Regions from separate parts of the Homo sapiens genome. Here region 2 is linked to region 1. The links are contacts of gene promoters, found by promoter capture Hi-C in human tissues and cell types (Jung and others, 2019). All regions are on one chromosome and are shown on one strand. Each heading gives the region's core, a stretch centred on a gene start or on the middle of the fragment in contact. The rest is flanking DNA. Distances are from core to core; before and after follow the strand shown. Region 1 holds the start of IGFBP4 (insulin like growth factor binding protein 4). Region 2 holds the start of MSL1 (MSL complex subunit 1).

Region 1 (4,925 bases), core at 1,460-3,959:
TACAACCTCCATCTCCTGGGTTCAAGCGATTCTCCTGCCTCAGCCTCCTGAGTAGCTGGGACTACAGGCACGTGCCACCACGCCTGACTAATTTTTTTTATTTTTAGTAGAGACGAGGTTTCCCCGTGTTAGCCACGATGGTCTCGATCTCCTGACCTCATGATCCACCCGCCTTGGCCTCCCTAAGTGCTGGAATTACAGCCGTGAGCCACCATGCCCGGCCTGGGGGCAGTTTTCTGAATCAGGCACAGGCTGGGCTTCCCCAGGGACTTGAGGAAGCTGGTTCTGTTTGCCCTTCTCCAAGGCATATGGGGCAGAAGGGTCCCCACTTCATCTATGAGATGGAATGGAGAGAACCCCAGAATCTTGGCCCCAGCCATCACTTTCCAGCCCTTCTGCAGTCTTGATGGTTGCCAGTAGGTGCCGTCAGTTTGCAACTTTTTGGTCTGTCCTGCAGGTCCGGCTGCCAGTCCCAATCTCCCTGCAATCATCTCTCAGTAAGTAGGAGGTAGCCCAATCCCCGTGAGGCTGAAAGACCCCTGTCCTGGGGGAAGAAGCAGGAAGAGGGTCTCTGAACTGCATTTCAGCTTGGCTGACCTGCAGCTTTCTAGGCCGAGACAAAAAAAAAAAAAAATCCACAGTGGGTTACTGATTATTCCTGGACAGGTACGCTTAACCTGAAACCAGCTCCAGTACAGCAGAAGCCTTTGTAGGGAAGAATGGGTGGGAATTAGCGGGGGCCTGAGAGGGAACCTAGGAGATGGATCTTTGCTCCAAATGCCACTCCAGGGCTCTTCTCAATTTGGGCAGGATTGGGCAAGGCTGGGGGAATAGGGATCAATAGGATTTTACAGAGGGTCAAGCCAGGCCCAACACTAGCCCAAGTAGCAACACTGGGTGAATTAAAAAAGCATCCCTTCCTTAAAATTCTTTTTTTTTTTTTTTTTTGAGACAGAGTCTTGCTCTGTCACCTGGACTGGAGTGCAGTGGTATGATCTTGGATCACTGTAACCTCCTCCTCCTGGGGTTCAAGCGATTCTTCTGCCTCAGCCTCCCAAGTAGCTGGGATTACAGGCATGCGCCACCACGCCCGGCTAATTTTTGTATTTTTAGTAGAGATGGGGTTTCACCGTGTTGGCCAGACTGGTCTCAAACTCCTGACCTCAGGTGATCTGCCCACCTTGGCCTCCCAAAGTGCTAGGATTACAGGCATGAGCCACTACGCCTGGCCTTCTTTTTTCTCTTTCTTTCTTTTTTTTTTTGAGATGGAGTCTCGCTCTGTCGCCCAGGTTGGAGTGCAGTGGCGCAATCTCAGCTCACTGCAAGCTCCACCTCCCGGGATCATGCCATTCTCCTGCCTCAGCCTCCCTAGTAGCTGGGACTACAGGCACCCGCCACCACGCCCGGCTAACTTTTTGTATTTTTAGTAGAGAGGGGGTTTCACCGTGCTAGCCAGGATGGTCTCGATTTCCTGACCTCGTGATCTGCCCGCCTCGGCCTCCCAAAGTGCTGGGATTACAGGCGTGAGCCACCGCGCCCGGCCTTCTTTCTTTCTTTCTTTTTTAGACAGAGTTTCCTTCTTTCACCTAGGCTGGTGTGCAGTGGTACAATTCTAGCTCACTGCAGCCTCCAACTCCTGGGCTCAAGTGATCCTCTTGCCTCAGGCTCCCGAGTACCTGGGACCACAGGTGAACGCCACCACACCTGGCTAATTTTAAAATTTTTTTGTAGAGACAAGGTCTCACTACGTTGCCCAGACTGGTCTTGAACTCCTGGGCTCAAGTGATCCTCCCGCCTCAGCCTCCAAAAGTGCTGACATTACAGGTGTGAGTCACTGCTGCAGGCCCCTCAAATCCTTCACTGCCATCTGGGAAATGATCACAACAGCTCTACAAATACACAATGATTACAAGGAATGGTGCCCCACTGGAGTTGTTCAACGCAAAACTTGCACATTGCAAGTGGCAATCTCCCAGGCCTGCCTCCCTCCACGAGTGGGTCTGAATGGGCCTGAGAGGCAAACATCCAAGAAGGAGGAAGAGGCTCGGCGGCACCTCCCTCCCCGGGAGTTCTGCTGATTCCATCTTGGGGAAGCAGGGTGGACCAGGGCCCAAATGCGCCCTGGGGAGATTGCGGGGGCGGGAGAGGTTGCAAGGGGCAAGTGGCAAGAGCCTGTTAACGTCTTAGGGCCTCCAGGCCTTTCTGTGCCCCTAGCTGTGCCTGTACGCTTTACCCCACCTCAGGAGGCTTGGTCTCCAGCGGTTGAGGCTGGAAGCACCGGGGTGCGGTGGAAAGGGCTCTGTCCAGGAAGACCGGATCCGCAGAGCCGGGAGTCCGGGCTAGGAAGTCCCTTTCTCGGTGGGAGACTGAGGCCGCCTTGGCGGGGCGGGACGAGACTCCTCCGAGGTCGGGAAAGGGGGCCCCGCAGCAGCCCCTTGGCTTCCCTTCTCCCTTGCCTCCCCTCCGGGGCTCCGGTTCAGAGGCACTCTGGGCGCCTGCTACAGCTTCCAAACTGCGCCGCTTCCTTCTTCGGCAGAAAAGGACTTTCAGATGCGGCGGCGGCGGCGGCGGCGACTCAGGACAGCGCCCCCTCCCCCTAACGGCCGCCTCTCCCTCTCCCCCTCGCCCGCCCCGGCTCCCCCACCTCTGGGAAGGCGCTGGGGGTGTGGCCAGGGACCGGTATAAAGTCCGGGGGAGCCGGTCCCGGGCAGCCGCTCAGCCCCCTGCCCCTCGCCGCCCGCCGCCTGCCTGGGCCGGGCCGAGGATGCGGCGCAGCGCCTCGGCGGCCAGGCTTGCTCCCCTCCGGCACGCCTGCTAACTTCCCCCGCTACGTCCCCGTTCGCCCGCCGGGCCGCCCCGTCTCCCCGCGCCCTCCGGGTCGGGTCCTCCAGGAGCGCCAGGCGCTGCCGCCGTGTGCCCTCCGCCGCTCGCCCGCGCGCCCGCGCTCCCCGCCTGCGCCCAGCGCCCCGCGCCCGCGCCCAGTCCTCGGGCGGTCATGCTGCCCCTCTGCCTCGTGGCCGCCCTGCTGCTGGCCGCCGGGCCCGGGCCGAGCCTGGGCGACGAAGCCATCCACTGCCCGCCCTGCTCCGAGGAGAAGCTGGCGCGCTGCCGCCCCCCCGTGGGCTGCGAGGAGCTGGTGCGAGAGCCGGGCTGCGGCTGTTGCGCCACTTGCGCCCTGGGCTTGGGGATGCCCTGCGGGGTGTACACCCCCCGTTGCGGCTCGGGCCTGCGCTGCTACCCGCCCCGAGGGGTGGAGAAGCCCCTGCACACACTGATGCACGGGCAAGGCGTGTGCATGGAGCTGGCGGAGATCGAGGCCATCCAGGAAAGCCTGCAGCCCTCTGGTAAGGTACCCCTGGCCTCCCAATTCCCTCCTGAGTGCGCTCCCTTCCCAGCGGCTTCTTCCCCATTCCAGCCGCCCTGGAAGGCCCTTAAAAATCCCCTATGAGTTGAAGAGAAGGCAGGTACGTGGCAGGGCCCGACTGGCATGGGACAGGCTCATCAAGGAAACTGCTACCGAGTCCCTAGCAGCCTGTTGCCACCACCAAGGGAGACTGTCCCATCGCTCCATCTCAAACCTCCAAGGGTTGTCTGTTTGATAAGGGGGTCCCAGTGGGAGGCCTGGCTGCTGGTGCAGGAGTGGCAGATTAAGGTCCAGTTAAGTCAGCTGTCTAGGGCCAGAGAACTGGAGGATGGTGGTGGGGTGTGTGTTGGGGAGGATGAGGGAGTGGGGAAAGCTTTCTGTTCCTGATCCAGGCCGAGGGTGAAATCCCAGTGGTCTGGGGAGCCAGGGCCTGAACTTTTTTTTTACATGGTCCAGTGGTGGAGTGGGACATACAAATTAGAGGGACTTTGGCGTTGAGGGGCATTAGACTTGCCCTTCCCCAAAGCCCAGAGCCAGGTCACCTTGTTGTTTGAGAGGCAGTGGGAAGACAGGGGTCCCTCTGCCAGGCCTGGACACCTCTGCCTGCCCTGGTATACAGGCCCCCTGTTCTTTTCTCCAGGCAGGTAGGATTTGAGGTGGTAGAAAAGTCTTGGCTCCTAGCCGAGAGCTGCAGGAGCCTCATGTGTGTGGGATAGGGAATAGAGAAGGGGCCAGGGCGCCAGGGGAGAGAAACAGAGAGAGAGAGAGAGAGAGAGAGAAACACACACACACACACACACACACACACACACACACACACACAGAGACAGAGAGAGAGAGAGAGAGAGAGAGAGAGAGAGAGAGAGAGAGAGAGAGAGAGACTCTGAGAAGGCCCTTGCCCTAACCTCATTCTTACACTTTCTTTTTTTGTTTCTCAGTTTCTCCTTAGACTCTCAGTCTCTTTTCCTTCTTTCTCTTGCTCTTTTGTTCTTCCTGATTTGTCTCTCAACCTCTAGTTTCACTAGTCATGCTCTCGAGTTCTGTTTTCCTCAGTGTCTTCTGCCCATCGTGCGTTTCTTTCTCCACCTTATTCTGTGTTTCTGTTTCAGTTGCTCTGCTTCTCTCCCTCTCTTTCTGTTGCTGTTTCTCTGTGTCTCTGTCACTGTTGGTCTTTCCCTGTTACTTTGGGAATCTCTCTGTCTGTCTTTCTGTATCTATGCCTCTGTTTCTCATTCCATCTCCGACCCTGTTTTGCTCTCCTGTGCCTCTGTCTGTCTCTGTCTCTTTTCCTGGTGCTTGAAGCTTCCATTGTTGCAGTCCGGATGCTGGGACTCCAGCCCCAAGCTTCCTGTCCTGGGACCCAAACCCTCCACTTCCTCAATCCTCTGCAGCTTGTCAGCCGAGGAGAGCAGGATGCAGGGAAAACAGGAAGGAGGTGGACTCCAGGGGTCTGGGCCTCGGGCCTCTCTGCCCTTCCTGCCCCTGGGTAGGGAGAGATGGGTCAGCAGAAAACATTCTAGGAGAAATGCCAGCCTGGCACCCAGCATATCTGGGAAGGGGG
Region 2 (4,925 bases), core at 765-3,264, 320 kb before region 1:
TTAGACATCCAACTGGGTATGTATACTAGACAGTTGGATATATGATTCTGGAGTTAGGGGATGAGTCCAGAAAGAAATATAAATTACGGAGCTGTCAGCGTAGAGATGGTGCAGAAAGTCTTGACGCTGAAGGCTGGGCACAGTGGCTCACTCCTATAATCCCAGCACTTTGGGACGCCCAGGTGGGAGGATCGCTTGAGCGAGTTCAATACCAGCCTGGGCAACAAAGGCTGGTATTACAAAGGCCCGTCTCTACAAAAAAATAAAAAGTTAGCCAGGTGTGGCAGCCCAAGCCTGTTGTCCCAGCTACTTAGGAGACTGAGGTGGGAGGATCACTTGAGCCCTGGAGGTTGAGGCTGCAGTGAACCATAATTGTGCCACTGTACTCTAGCCTTGGGGACACAGCAAGACCCCAGTGCCACAAACACACAAGCCTTGACATGGAAAGAGATCACCACATTCTATGTGCCCTCTCATCCCTGCTCACTCCATTACTTGGTGTCCCTAAGCTCAATACTTCCCTTGCTGATCTGAGGCCATACAGTCTGGTGAAAGAGGGCCGGACTCTTGGCTTCTTAACACATTCACATACGTTTGTTTAAAATTTCCAGTGTTTCATGCTTTCAGCCCACAAAGCACAGACACAGTTTTAATGAGAGGTTTTCACATCAGGCCAGAGAATGTCAGTCTTCTCCATCTCCATAGAGATTTTAAAAAGCACACCTCAGACAAAAAAGAAAAACAAGCAATTAAGACTATTTCAGGGCTGGGCACGGTGGCTCACACCTGTAATCCCACCACTTTGGGAGGCCGAGGCGGGCGGATCACCTGAAGTCGGGAGTTCCAGACCAGCCTGACCAAGGAGAAATCCTGTCTCTACTAAAAATACAAAATTAGCTGGGCGTGGTGGCGCGTGACTGTAATCCCAGCTACTCGGGAGGCTGAGGCAGGAGAATCGCTTGAACCCCGGAGGCGGAGGTTGCAGTGAGCTGAATTTCACCATTGCACTCCAGCCTGGGCGACAGAGTGAGAATCCGTCTCAAAAAAAAAAAACGTTTTTTTCACAAGGAATTCTGAGGACTTGTTGGCTCAATTGCTTGGACATAAAGACACACATACATGAAGCTGGAGAGATAGGAAGAAGCGCTCAACACAGAACACCCTAAGTATCCCTACTCCCTTTCAAGGACTAAATCCCTTCAGAGATTTCCTTTGCTTCAGTCCTTCAGGAGCCTCCCGAAGATGCTAGGAGTCGTTTAAGAAGGCTGGAAGATGGCCGTTGGGAAGGAACTGTTGGTAGCTGGCAATACTTCATCCCAAGGAGGCGGTGGCAATAGCTCCCTGGGCAGCAGACATCATGGATTTTCCTCCCTCTGGGAACCAGAGGTCCCTCCGTTTCTGGTTTGAATCCCTTAGAGACAAAGAACTTCATTCTCTCCCATACCCGCGTGGGACTGCTGGGGAGGAGAGGGGGTGGAGGGGTTAGACTTCTACCCCCATGAAACACCCGCGGGCTCAAAGAGGAGCCTGGATCCTGACTGGTCCAGGAGGCGTGCGGGGCCGCGGGGCCCCTCCGGCTTGGGCCAGGCGCGTTGCCAAGATGCCCGGGGAAGGGGCCGCCCGGCGCAGGCCGGGGACGTGGAGCGCTCGGGGCGCTCCCACGTAGGCCACACATTGGCCGCCTGTATCCTCCTTCTTTCCTCTCAACTCCATTCTCTCGCGCTTTTTTCCCGGGGAGCCTCCGCTTTCCCCTTCTTCCCGCGGCCGCCCTCGCCCTTCTTCCCCCTCCAGACCCTCCCCCGGCTCGCCCCTCCCTCGGCAGCCCACCTTCACCCCGCTCCTCCGCGCGCTCCTCGGTCCTCGCCCCTCAGCCCCGGCCTCCCCTCGCCGGCCCCCGGCCCCCGCGGTCCCCTCCCTGCCCCCCTCGAGGCGGCGGCGGCCCCTTTCACAATAGCGCGGCCCGCCTCCCTCCTCTCGGCTCCCGGTGCACTCCCGCCCGCTCCCCTCCCCGCGCATGCGTCCTCCGGTTGGCGGCGGCTGCGGCGGTGGCGGCTACGAGCGGCTCCGTTTTTTTAAAGGGAAACGCTGAGGCGCCGGGGGTGACTGTGGGGGAGGGGGACCCCGAGCCGCGGAGACCCCCGGGAGAGGCGACAGACCCCCTCTCCCGGAGTAGGAGGGCTTTGGGCGGACCCAGCCCTCCACCCCCTCCTGAGGAGGAGGGGGGGGAAATGGAGGCTCGGGGCGGTTGAGGCGAGCTCCGGGGCGGGGGGCCGGGGCGGGGAAGGGGGGGTGCGGGGTGGGGAGACGAGGCGGGCCCGGCCGGGCCAGGGGGGGCCGAAGCGAGCTCCGGGGATGAGCTCGGGGGCGGCTGGGTGCGAGCTCCTGCCTCTGAGGCGAAGGCGGCGGCGGCGGCAGCAGAGGCGGCGGCGAGGCCCCCATGGGCCGGCGGCGGGCCTCAGCCGCGGCCTCCACGTCTCCGCACGCCGGCGGGATGGCGCCCGGGCCCCGGAGGAGCCGCGCTAGCGGAGGCCTGCTGCCGCGCTGCTGAGGCGAGCCCGCCAAACTCCCCTCCCCCCCCTCAGTCCTCGACCCCCCGCACCTCGCCCCTTCCCCACCCCCTCCTCCGCCTCGGTGCCCGGCGCTGCTCCGGACCACTATGACCATGAGATCCGCGGTGTTCAAGGCGGCCGCGGCCCCTGCCGGCGGCAATCCTGAGCAGCGACTGGACTACGAGCGGGCTGCGGCGCTGGGCGGGCCCGAGGACGAGCCTGGGGCGGCCGAAGCCCACTTCCTCCCCCGGCACCGTAAGCTCAAGGAGCCGGGGCCCCCGCTGGCCTCCTCCCAGGGCGGGAGCCCCGCGCCTTCCCCGGCCGGCTGCGGCGGCAAGGGCCGGGGCTTGTTACTCCCGGCCGGGGCGGCCCCCGGGCAGCAGGAAGAGAGCTGGGGCGGTTCGGTGCCCTTGCCCTGTCCGCCCCCGGCCACCAAGCAAGCCGGCATTGGGGGGGAGCCTGCCGCAGCCGGAGCCGGCTGCAGCCCCCGGCCCAAGTATCAGGCGGTGCTGCCCATTCAGACGGGCTCTCTCGTGGCGGCGGCCAAAGAGCCTACGCCCTGGGCTGGGGACAAGGGTGGGGCGGCCTCCCCCGCTGCCACCGCCTCGGACCCGGCGGGACCCCCACCACTACCTCTGCCCGGGCCGCCACCCCTCGCGCCCACCGCCACCGCCGGGACCCTGGCGGCCAGCGAGGGCAGATGGAAGAGTATGAGGAAGAGCCCTCTCGGGGGTGGTGGCGGCTCGGGAGCCTCCAGTCAGGCCGCCTGCCTCAAACAGATCCTTCTGCTGCAATTGGACCTCATCGAACAGCAGCAGCAGCAGCTGCAGGCCAAGGAAAAGGAGATCGAGGAGCTGAAGTCAGAGAGAGACACGGTACGGGAGGGGTTAATCTGCATTCGGGCCGAGGAGCGAGTTGTGCGCATGCTCGGGGGAAGGGGGCTGTAGGAGGTTAAGGCACCCCCGGGTTAGGGGTAAAGGAGGTTGGCCACCGGCAAAGGAGTATCTTAGGCGCTGGGTCTCTGGGAGCCAGGCTCACAGACACGTTGGGTTGGAGGGAAGGGTTAAAGGGCAACCTCTCAGGGGGAGGGGGAGGGGTTTCAGGTGCCAAAGGGTTAATTTAAAATGACAGCCCCAGACGTGTGGGAAAGACGTTTAGTGGAAAAAGACGTGATCTGTGAGGGGTTAAAAATGAAAGGGTGGGGTGTAGGTGTTGTGTCCTTATGGAAGGGTTAAATTAAAGAGCTATTGCGTTAGAAATGCACGGTGGAGGAGAGGGCTGTAGCAAGCAGCTGTTGCTTTCACCACTGCTGCAGCATCTTTAGATAGGAGGGCAGTAGGCCTTTTAGTGGGCACAGGGGTAGAGGTGATTTACGTGGAATCCTATTTTAGTTTTCTTAAATGATATTAAGAGAATCACTGCCTTTGATTTCAGACAGCTTTTAATAGGAACCTGAGTTCTAATACATGACCCACTGACCAGGTCCCTTTTATAAGCATGGTGTTTGAAACTGGAAGATTTTAGGGCATCAGGGGAAAGTAAGCTTATTAAATGTATTAAATAGACCTCCCCATCCTTATTTTAGAATCTTAGGGAGTAGGAAAGTCGTTTATTATTTCTTTACTTCTGAGGAGCTTGGACGACACAGGCTTGTTTTTACTGCAGCAGTAGTTAAGGGCATCTCTGCGTTAAAACATATTCCTTCAGATATGAGGGAAGCTGGGGTGGGGGGTATTACTGTGCTAGCATACCTTACAGCTGCCTAAAAATAAACATGGTTTCTACAATTGTTGTGTTCAGGCTGCAGCAGTCTCTCTCTCCCTCTCTCCCTCCCTCTTCCTCCCTCCCTGTCTCTTTCCCTTTCTCTCTCTCTCTCTCTCCCTCCCTCCCCGCCGTCCTCATCTCTCCCTCTCTCCTCTTTCTCTCTGGCGTCGTGTGCGCTAAGAGCTGAGCAAGGGAGCAAGCGGCTATTCATTTTGTTTGCTTTCCAAATGAATCTCATCGGGTGGCTGTTTTATTGGAGAATGCATTCTGCAAGGTGGATTGGGAGCTGGGGCAGGTCTCATTAAAATATCTCATGGTGTTGATTTGTGGAAGTTACTCAACATGGAGGTGGCACTGCTCAGACTGTACTGCAGTCTAGGGGTGTGATGGTACCGTAATTACAACACATCATATCCTTGTATGGGGGGAGTGGGAAGAGAAGGACCAGTGAAGGAGAAAAAAATCAAGGAAATGTCACCCACAAATGGTGGTTAAGGGCTGTGAATCAAAACATATACAAGGAGATGAAATGAGAGTATGGCTGATAGGGGGGTTCTCTGCTGATTGTGGAGGTTTCTGCTCAGTTCCTGAGGTAATGGCCCCTTTGCAGGC

What was found. Contacts are between HindIII fragments. The study calls those that stand out against the background at their distance.
Region 2: a contact is called between the fragment with the promoter of MSL1 here and the fragment with the promoter of IGFBP4 in region 1, in 1 of the 25 tissues and cell types used here (ovary).

Annotation. Positions count from the first base shown.
Region 1 is chr17:40,440,741-40,445,665 of GRCh38, forward strand. IGFBP4 (insulin like growth factor binding protein 4) reads left to right here and starts at 2,710. Exons shown (of 4, transcript NM_001552.3): 1 at 2,710-3,344. The coding sequence starts at 2,996. RefSeq lists an enhancer at 511-560 and silencers at 2,607-2,796, 2,807-2,856, 2,867-2,916. The HindIII fragment of the contact is 6,489 bases long and covers 1-4,201 here.
Region 2 is chr17:40,119,957-40,124,881 of GRCh38, forward strand. It overlaps MSL1 (MSL complex subunit 1), which reads left to right and starts at 2,015. Exons shown (of 9, transcript NM_001365919.1): 1 at 2,015-3,424. The coding sequence starts at 2,657. LOC124904001 (a long non-coding RNA gene) reads right to left here and starts at 1,884. Exons shown (of 2, transcript XR_007065752.1): 1 at 1,828-1,884; 2 at 573-1,457. RefSeq lists silencers at 1,466-1,625, 1,856-2,055, 2,096-2,305, 2,366-2,505, 2,606-2,655 and 1 more and an enhancer at 2,856-3,494. The HindIII fragment of the contact is 12,972 bases long and covers 1-4,559 here.